Regions from separate parts of the Homo sapiens genome. Here regions 2 and 3 are each linked to region 1. Evidence: promoter capture Hi-C in 16 types of primary human blood cells and fetal thymus (Javierre and others, 2016). All regions are on one chromosome and are shown on one strand. Each heading gives the region's core, a stretch centred on a gene start or on the middle of the fragment in contact. The rest is flanking DNA. Distances are from core to core; before and after follow the strand shown.

Region 1 (2,862 bases), core at 96-2,595:
AATGTATGTGGACCCAGGTCCATGTAATATGGATTCAATAAATGTTAGCTATCTTGAAATTGCATTCCTCATTTAGACTCTAAGTTGTTTGAAGGCAGAAATGGATCTTCCGAACATAGCTCTCAGTTCACCCTCGAGAAATGTTCATTGAGTCAGTTAAGAGGCCTGGGGCCAAACTGCTGCGGACCTGTTTTCACATTTGTCAAATGTCTGGATTGCACTTCAGATATTTAAAGTCTGTATGACTCCTAACATTCATTCATTCATCAAATATTTGTTGACAACCTATTATGTGCCACTCACTCTGCTAGACAACGGGGGAAGGGACAGGCTGGAGGAGCCCGTGAGGTAGCAGGGCCAGACCACCAGTTTGGAGCCAGACAGGCCCGGCTGTGTGAATTCTTGCTGTCACAAGTCAAAAACAGTTGTGTAAGCCACTTGATTTCTCTGAACCTCAGCTTCTCTATGGGCAAAAGGGGATGGGTATATTTTCCCCAGAGATCTGTGATGAATATTGAAAGGGTTAAGCTGTGTAGTGTCCCAAGCACAAGCCAATGAAATGTTGGTGGACGTCCTCATTCTACTCCCACCTCCTCAGCTCCCTTACAGGGAAAGGAGATACGCGTGTAGGTAAATATCCTATGCGCCAAGTCAGACCTAGGAGTGGGAACAGAATTCACAGCTGGGATCCAGAAGCATTTCTAGGCGCACCCTTTGAGGAGTAGGTAGGAATTGGACTCCTGGAAATTCCAGGCCCAGGGAAGAAAGCGAATTGTGAGGAGGAACGGTGGTCTGGGTCTGAACGGCTCTGAGAGGTCTTCAAGTTTGGGGGATGACGTTGGGCTGTACGATCCTAGGAACAAGAGGGTGGACATCTCCCCCCAACCAACACACCCGCGCCGGGCCCTGGGACCTCCCGGCGGATACCCTTTCCCAGTCCCGCTTCCCGCGAGGTCCCAGGTGCAGCAGGAGCGGGTGGCCGCTTGGCCACAGGAGGGCAGCAGCGGCCCTTCCTGACCCCACCCCGAGCACCTCTTAACTTTCCCGACGCCGGTCCTCCCCTAGGGGATTGAAGGCTGGGCAGAGTCTGAGTCCACCCGGGTCGTGCTCCCCCCGCTCGCCCGGCTCCTCCGCAGTCCAGGAATCTCCCCGTGGCTCTCCCCGACCTGGAGGGGTGGACGCCCCTGGCCCCCAGTCCCCGGCCTGCGGAGGGGGCCGGTGGCTGCGGCCCTGCGCGGGGCCGGGGCGGGCCGAGCCAAGGGCCGCCCCCGGCCGACCCTCCCCCTGCCGGGCCCGCCCTCCCCGCCGCGGCGCTGGAGGAGGGCGGGGCGGGGCCCTGGGGTCAGTCTGAGCCTCCGGCACCGGCCGCGCAGCTGGAGGCGGCGGAGCGGAAGGTACCCTGGGCCGGGGCTGCGGGCGGTGGGGCGTCTTGGGAACTCGTCCCCAGGAGAGCACTTTCCCTTCCTCGCTGGCCCGGAGATCGGGGCCCGTGCGAGGAGGGGCTTCGGCCTGGGCGTGGACCCCGTTCCCTCCAAGCGGAGTCGGCATCCGGGCTGGGCGGTGGTCGGACCGCGTCGGCCCCTCCCCGGGCTGCAGCGAGGGGGCCCGGACCTGCCGGCAGGGGCTCTGGCCTCCTGAGGTCCGAGTCGGAGCCCCTTCCCTTCTCCTCCCAGCTTCCCGGAACCTGCCCCGCCGGGCGAGGGGCGAGGGAACTTCAACTCAGACGCCCCAGCCCCCAGGGTGGGCGGCCGCAGGGGACCTAGAGTGGGATGGGGTGGGAATTCCTCCAGGCCAGGAGGGAGGTATGGCGGGAATAGGGGCGGGATGTGACCATTGGGGCCTGCCACTGCTCGGCAGGGTCTGGACGCCGCCCTGGACGGTTCCTGGAGCCCGCTTGTGTTGAGGATAAGGGAGATGGGGAAGGATCCAACTCTGTGTGTGTGTGTGTGTGTGTGTGTGTGTGTGTGTGTGTGTGTGTGTGTGTGTGTGTGTGTGTGTGTGTGTGTGGTGTGTGTGTGTGTGTGTGTGTGTGTGTGTGTGTAGAGAGAGAGAGAGAGAGAGAAAATGAGATTGAGAATCCTCCTTCTTCATACTCGAACCAAGAAAGAGTATCCTGGGGTTTGGGACTGGGATCCCGAGGCCGAGTCCCGCCCTCACTCTGGTTTTAAAGTTGAGAATGCAGTATCTCTTGGTATCTCCAGAACGGATTCCTTCCCTAGGTGTAGGGTGGGCCGGCAAAGTCAACCGGCCGCTCTGGATCATCTGGGAATTCAAGAGAGCGATTGGAGAGAGGTCTGATGTAGCCACACTGTCTTGTCTTGGGGAAGGCCCCAGAAGTTCCAGGCTCCATTCCAGGCCCTGTGTGGGGCTCAGTTGCCCCTCTTAAGGGGTCAGTGGGACAGTCCCTCTGGGGCTGCCTCTCACAGGGAGTTGTCCATGCCATCTTGGCCTTGGGCCTAGTGTCCTGGCCTGGGCTGCCTGCTGTTCTGGCCCAATCATAGCCTGGAGGGAAAGTCTTCTAATTGGGCTGGAGGCTCCAGGTCCCTTAACGCATGCCTCAACCCCGGGTTTCTGTCCTCTGCCTCCCACCACTCTGGTGCCGTCTGAATTACCCTGCTGGGGGGACAGCAGTGGCATACTCATGCCTAAGTGACTGGCTTTCACCCCAGTAGTGATTGCCCTCCATCAACACTGCCCACCCCAGGTTGGGGCTACCCCAGCCCATCTTTACAAAACAGGGCAAGGTGAACTAATGGAGTGGGTGGAGGAGTTGGAAGAAATCCCAGCGTCAGTCACCGGGATAGAATTCCCAAGGAACCCTCTTTTTGGAGGATGGTTTCCATTTCTGGAGGCGATCTGCCG
Region 2 (2,862 bases), core at 224-2,723, 300 kb after region 1:
CCTCGGCCTCCCAAAGTGCTGGGATTACAGGCGTGAGCCACTGCGCCCGGCCGCATACATGTCTTTTTAAGATCCAGTTTAATTCGCTTTCTGGGACAACATAATAGGTATCAGGTTTTTGTTTTGTTTAGTTCTAAGACTCATGCAACTCTGCTATATCTCTCTGTGAGTGTGAATGTGTGAATGTGTAAGTGTGTGTGTGTACACATCTCTTTCTCTGTCTCTCATATATGATGTCAGCAAGATTTATATGTATATTGAAGAAAAGAAGGAAGTAGCCTTATGCCCATAAACAAACATTCAGATATCTCTTCCCTCAAATGAGAACATTAGTGCAAAGCTATTAAAAACAGGTCTGGGCTGGGTGCAGCGGCTCACGCATGTAATCCCAGCACTTTGGAATGCCGAGGCAGGCAGATCACCTGAGATAAAGAGTTCAAGACCAGCCTGGCCAACATGGTGAAACCCCATCTCTACTAAAAATACAAAAATTAGCCGGGCATGGTGGCGCACACCTGTGATCCCAGCTTCTCAGGTGGCTGAGGAAAGAGAATCGCTTGAACCCAGGAGGTGGAGGTTGCAGTGAGCTGAGATTGCACCACTGCACTACAGCCTGGGAGACAGAGCAAGACTCTATCTCAAAACAAGAACAAAAGGTCTGTCTACCTGGATATCTGTTTACACCATCTCAGGTATTCTCATCTGAGACAAGGCCAAACTAGAACTACATTAGTTAAGCTACTGGAATGGATGTTAATGAAAATGAATAACAACTTTTATATTAATAAATTTTTTATCATTGAACATTTTAAAAAAGATATGTCTTTTAACATCAGAATATTATTACCAGGAAACTGAAACATTACATTTTTTTTGTTTGTTTTTTTTGAGATGGAGTTTTGCTCTTGTTGCCCAGCCTGGAGTGCAATGGCGCAACCTCGGCTCACCGCAACCTCGGCCTCACCGCAACCTCCGCCTCCTGGTTCAAGAGATTCCCCTGCCTCAGACTCCCAAGTAGCTGGGATTACAGGCTTGTGCCACCATGCCTGGCTAATTTTGTATTTTTAGTAGAGACGGGGTTCCTCCATTTTGGTCAAGCTGGTCTGGCACTCCTGACCTCAAGTGACCCGCCCACCTCGGCCTCCCAAAGTGCTGGAATTACAGGCGTGAGCCACTGCACCCGGCTGAATCATTTCTATATAATTTGTTAGATGGCTTTATTTCATTTAAATGAAATTGTAACATGATTTCAATCAAATATGTATCTGACCGTCTCTATTGTCTATCTGTCCATCAGTCCCCTAAATTTTTGCTTTTCTGAAATAATGCCACCATAACTTGTAAAATACCACAAGGGAACAATAACATGTAGATTGATTATTTTCAGTAAGATGATTCATGGGCCACAATTCTAGAGGCAGCCTGGAATGCAAACCCTTCAAATGCTAATGTAGGATGATGACGTCATTGATTCCACTAAGATTCCACACTGGGGAGAAACTCCAGAGTATGGTATGAAGGATTAACCATCAAACAGTTAAGGAATCTGTGTTTTAGCGATGCCCATAACCTGACTTTATCTGAACTGCAAAAAAAACTTCAAATAATCCTCTAGCAGAAATAAAACTCGTGATGTTGTTTTGTCTTCTAAGACAGATAACTGACTTAAAAAAAATTTAACAATTGAGTATCAGTTGAATATTTCCAACAACAAGCCTGGCAATTGTTGTTCTATGGTTCTTCAGGGACAGTAATTCTGCTGGGAGACAGTATGTTATAGTGGAAAGCACATGGATTTTGGAATCTGACAGAGCTGAGTTTGCATCCTGGCTCTGCCACTTGCTCTTTCATCCATTTAACCTTTGAACTTCAGTTTTTTAGCTATAAAATGGACATAACAATACATACTGTAACAGGAGGCTGCATGGTTTAAATGAGTTAGTGACTGGTCAGCTTCTCATTTCTCATCCTTAAAGAGCATACTTTTTGGTTTCATCTGCAAGGATAATGAAGTTTTCCTTTTCCAATGGGTCATCATTGTCTATCATTCACGTGTCTAATTTACAAACCAAAACAAGTTTACTTCTGACTTCTGGCAGGTTGATCTGCACCAAAAAGAAAGAGATGGCCTGGCCAGTTCCTGGGAAAGTCAGTTTAGAGACATGTTCAAGCCAATTGTATCTGCACAATACTTGGGAAAAGAAAAGGCCAGCCTTCTGCTTAGATTAGTTTTTTGTGCCTTTAGCATACAGGTAAACGCATACCTTTGCTTCCACTGAATTTTAACAGGTTTTAATCAAGTCACAACTTTAACTTGTGATGACTGAGAAATGGGTTTCCTGAAAATATCACAGCTATTTTTTTACATTAAATTAAATGCATAATGGATATGTATCTACATTCGTAATTCAAGAGCAGTTATCACATTCTATTACATCAATTCATCTGTTTACATATCTGTCTTCTGTCTCACAAGACTCTGAACTCATCTGAACAACTACTCTGTCTATTCAACTTGATCACACTTAGCACTAGCAGTGTCTGGTTCAGATACTGAAAAAATGCTGGTTGGAAAGAAATGTACAGCACTTTCAATCTCAGCCAACACAACTGGACTTTACCTTTTAGAAAATGGGAAGCCACTCAACATTTTTAACCTGGTGAAAATCATAACAAAAGCATAGTTTTAGGAAAGTTAATGCTTACAGTACAGGGCTGACTTGACTGAAGAGAAAATGGAAACAGAAAGAGTAGTCGGGAAAAAAATTTAACAGCATAGGTATGAGGCAAAAATGTATGAACTAGGATGGTAGCAATAAGAATGGAAGAGACTGACAAAAGAGACATTAAAAAGAATTTACT
Region 3 (2,862 bases), core at 107-2,606, 280 kb before region 1:
GGTCGCACATAGAGTCAAAGATTGTTTTTCTGAAGCTTCAAGATTTAAAGTTTGCCTTGTTGGATTTTGGACTTACTTGAGACCTGTTACCCATTTCTTCTTGCCTATTGCTCCCTTTTAGAATGGGAATGTCTGTCGTATGCCTGTACACCATTGTATTTTGGAAGCACATAACTTGATTTCACAGGCTCACAACGGGAGAGGAATTTGCCTCATGATGAATTGTACCTTGAGTCACATCCAAATGTTATGAAGATGATATTTAGATGAGACTTCAGAGTCAGACTCTAAAGTTGATGCTGGAACAAGTTAAGACTTTTGATGTTATTGGGATGGAATGATTATATTTTGTAAGTAAGAAGGACATATATTTTGGGGGGCCAGGGGTGGAATTCTACAGTTTGTGTCTCCTCCAAAACTCATATTGAAATTTAATCTACAATGAAACACTCTTTAAGAGGTAGGGCCTTCAGAGGGTAGGCCCTGAGGGCTCCACTCTCACAGTGCTTTAGAAGAGGACTTGAGGGGGTGGGTTTGCCCCTTCTGTCTCTTCCTCCATGTAAGGACACAGATTTCAGACCCTCTGAAAAATGCAGCAACAAGGCATTATCTACTAGTGGCTTGATATTGGACTTTGCAGACTCCAGAACTGTGAGAAACGAATTCCTATTATTTGTAAATTATCTAGTCTTAGGTATGTTGCTATAGCAGCACAAACGGACTATGAGACTCAGTAACCAAAATGACTCAAATTATATCTTGTGGCTGAACCATGTGGAATATTAACCTCTGGGGTTGTGTGACAGGTAATAACAGGGTTGGGGAGCACATTAGCTTATACCTTCCTCAGCCTAAAAATGATACATGTCATTTCCTTGATAGGCCATTAGCTTGCTGTAATCACATGATCCAAACCTAACTGTAAGGGATGCTGGGAAAAGCAGGGGAGCAGTGGAATATTTGATGAGTACTGTTTATACAACAGCAGTTCTATAAATATTTCCTTGAGGGCAAGAATCTGTTTTATTTACTGATATTCCCAAACATCTAGAAAAGTGCCTGACATTTAGTGTTCACTAATAATTACTGAATCAATTAATTGATGAATTAATAAATGGCATGTGAAGCTGGTATGAATCTATTCTGAAAAGTTGCCAGATAGAATGATATGCAAGTTCAGGTTAATATTTCAGCAACAATTAGTGTTAACAAGAAAAAGGTATTTTGGTAAGAATTTATTTGAAGTTGACTAACATTCTCAAATGTAGTTACAGATTACATAACATCTTTTTTACAGGAGCTTAACAGTTCTTTAAATTGACAAAAATGTGAGGAAAGACAACAGTTAATTCTAAAAGCCAGTTTGGATTTTTTGTTTCATTTAAAAACAAACAGCCTGTGGCCGGGCACGGTGGCTCACACTTGTAATCCCAGCACGTTGGGAGGCCAAGGTGGGCAGATTACAAGGTCAGGAGTTCGAGACCAGCCTGGCCAACATGGTGACACCCCATCTCTACTAAAATTACAAAAATTAGCTGGGCGTGGTGGTGCGCACCTGTAGTCCCAGCTCCTCGGGAGGCTGAGGCAGAAGAATCGCTTGAACCCAGGAGGCGGAGGTTGCAGTGAGCCGAGATCGCGCCACTGTACTCCAGCCTGGGCCACACAGTGAGACCCTGTCTCAAAAAAGAAAACAAAATGAACAGCCTGCAGTCTTCCTAGAAATGACTGTTTAGGGAGTTGGGAACAGCTTGCCATGGAGAGAATTTAAGATTGTCATAATAGGAAAAGGTAAGGAGTAGCGAGGTAGGGGGAAACATTCAATAAACAGCAGTCCTTTTCACTCTAATAGAAAAACCTGTTCTCAGTTTTACCAGCATATTTAGAAAGGCACAAAGAGTTCAATATTGGAGTTTTCAGAAAGGAATCTCAAAGTGATTATGAGATGTAATCATTCATCTTTCATTCATCATCCAAATAGGTACAAAGCACAATGCCCAAGATTGTGCTAAGAATCGAGGTGCAAAAGATAGGATTTCTATGCTAATGAAACTTCTAGTCTAATTGGGAAGATAGACATTGAACAACTATTACAATAAGCGTGACATTGGTTGCAAAAAGGGAAGTGCCAGGTGCTATAAAGTGACAGACTGGGGAACTACGGGTTTTGGGCAGTAGAAAAGTAGGATCTGAAACAATCTCAAGAAATTGATGTTTCAACTTAACTCCAAAAGATAAGGACGATTTATTTGGCAATGGAAAAGTGAGGGGAAGACAACTCCAGACGGTGGGAATAGCCTGTCCTCACAACCCTACTATGAAGTCACACAGGATTACATGCTTAATTATATAGCTGGAGAAGTTGCAGAAGAAGAAAGTGACTTGTTCAAGGGACACTGTTTAACAGGGCACTTAATTAGGACCATAGGCCGCATTCCTAACCTTTTTAGGGCAAGGCACACAATTCTCTTTCTAAGGAAGACTCTCTTTCCTCACCAAAATAGTAGCTGAGTCAATCACTCCTATAGCCCATCAGGCACATCAACCAAGCATGAGCTATACTGATATAAAAGATATCAATTTATAATCTGTCCCACAGCTTTCAGGATGAGAACTAAAGAGCCCTAAAGGTCTCTCATGTAGGAAGAGGGTGGTGTGTAGTGGCAGAGAGGGAAGCTTCATCAGTGAGAGCCAAGTGCTAAAAGCAGCTGCGTGTGACATTTCCGTCAGCAGTCCTTCCTCCCTCATTGTGTATGAGACACACATCAGATGCTCTGGTTTATGATTTCAGCTTCAGAGTACATACCCTTTGAGATCCAAGCTCACATATCTCTTCCGGTGGCATGGTGCCTTTTTATTAACTGG

The links. Contacts are between HindIII fragments. The CHiCAGO score rates a contact against its expected background, and 5 or more counts as called.
Region 2: a contact is called between a fragment that was not itself captured here and the fragment with the promoter of RHOC in region 1, in 11 of 17 cell types (total B cells, neutrophils, naive B cells and 8 more). The highest score is 9.5, in total B cells.
Region 3: a fragment that was not itself captured here is called in contact with the fragment with the promoter of RHOC in region 1 in 2 of 17 cell types (M1 macrophages and M0 macrophages); the score reaches 5.5 in M1 macrophages.

Annotation. Positions count from the first base shown.
Region 1 is chr1:112,705,610-112,708,471 of GRCh38, reverse strand. RHOC (ras homolog family member C) reads left to right here and starts at 1,345. Exons shown (of 6, transcript NM_175744.5): 1 at 1,345-1,394. RefSeq lists a silencer at 906-1,625. The HindIII fragment of the contact is 12,151 bases long and covers 1-2,862 here.
Region 2 is chr1:112,403,094-112,405,955 of GRCh38, reverse strand. The region is part of intron 1 of CTTNBP2NL (CTTNBP2 N-terminal like); the gene reads right to left. Among named protein-coding and RNA genes, the nearest start is that of CTTNBP2NL, 8.3 kb to the right of the region's middle. RefSeq lists an enhancer at 956-1,481. The HindIII fragment of the contact is 6,480 bases long and covers 1-2,862 here.
Region 3 is chr1:112,983,215-112,986,076 of GRCh38, reverse strand. It overlaps LOC107985189 (a long non-coding RNA gene), which reads left to right. Exons shown (of 2, transcript XR_001738193.2): 1 at 1-2,862. Among named protein-coding and RNA genes, the nearest start is that of SLC16A1-AS1, 28 kb to the right of the region's middle. The HindIII fragment of the contact is 2,638 bases long and covers 38-2,675 here.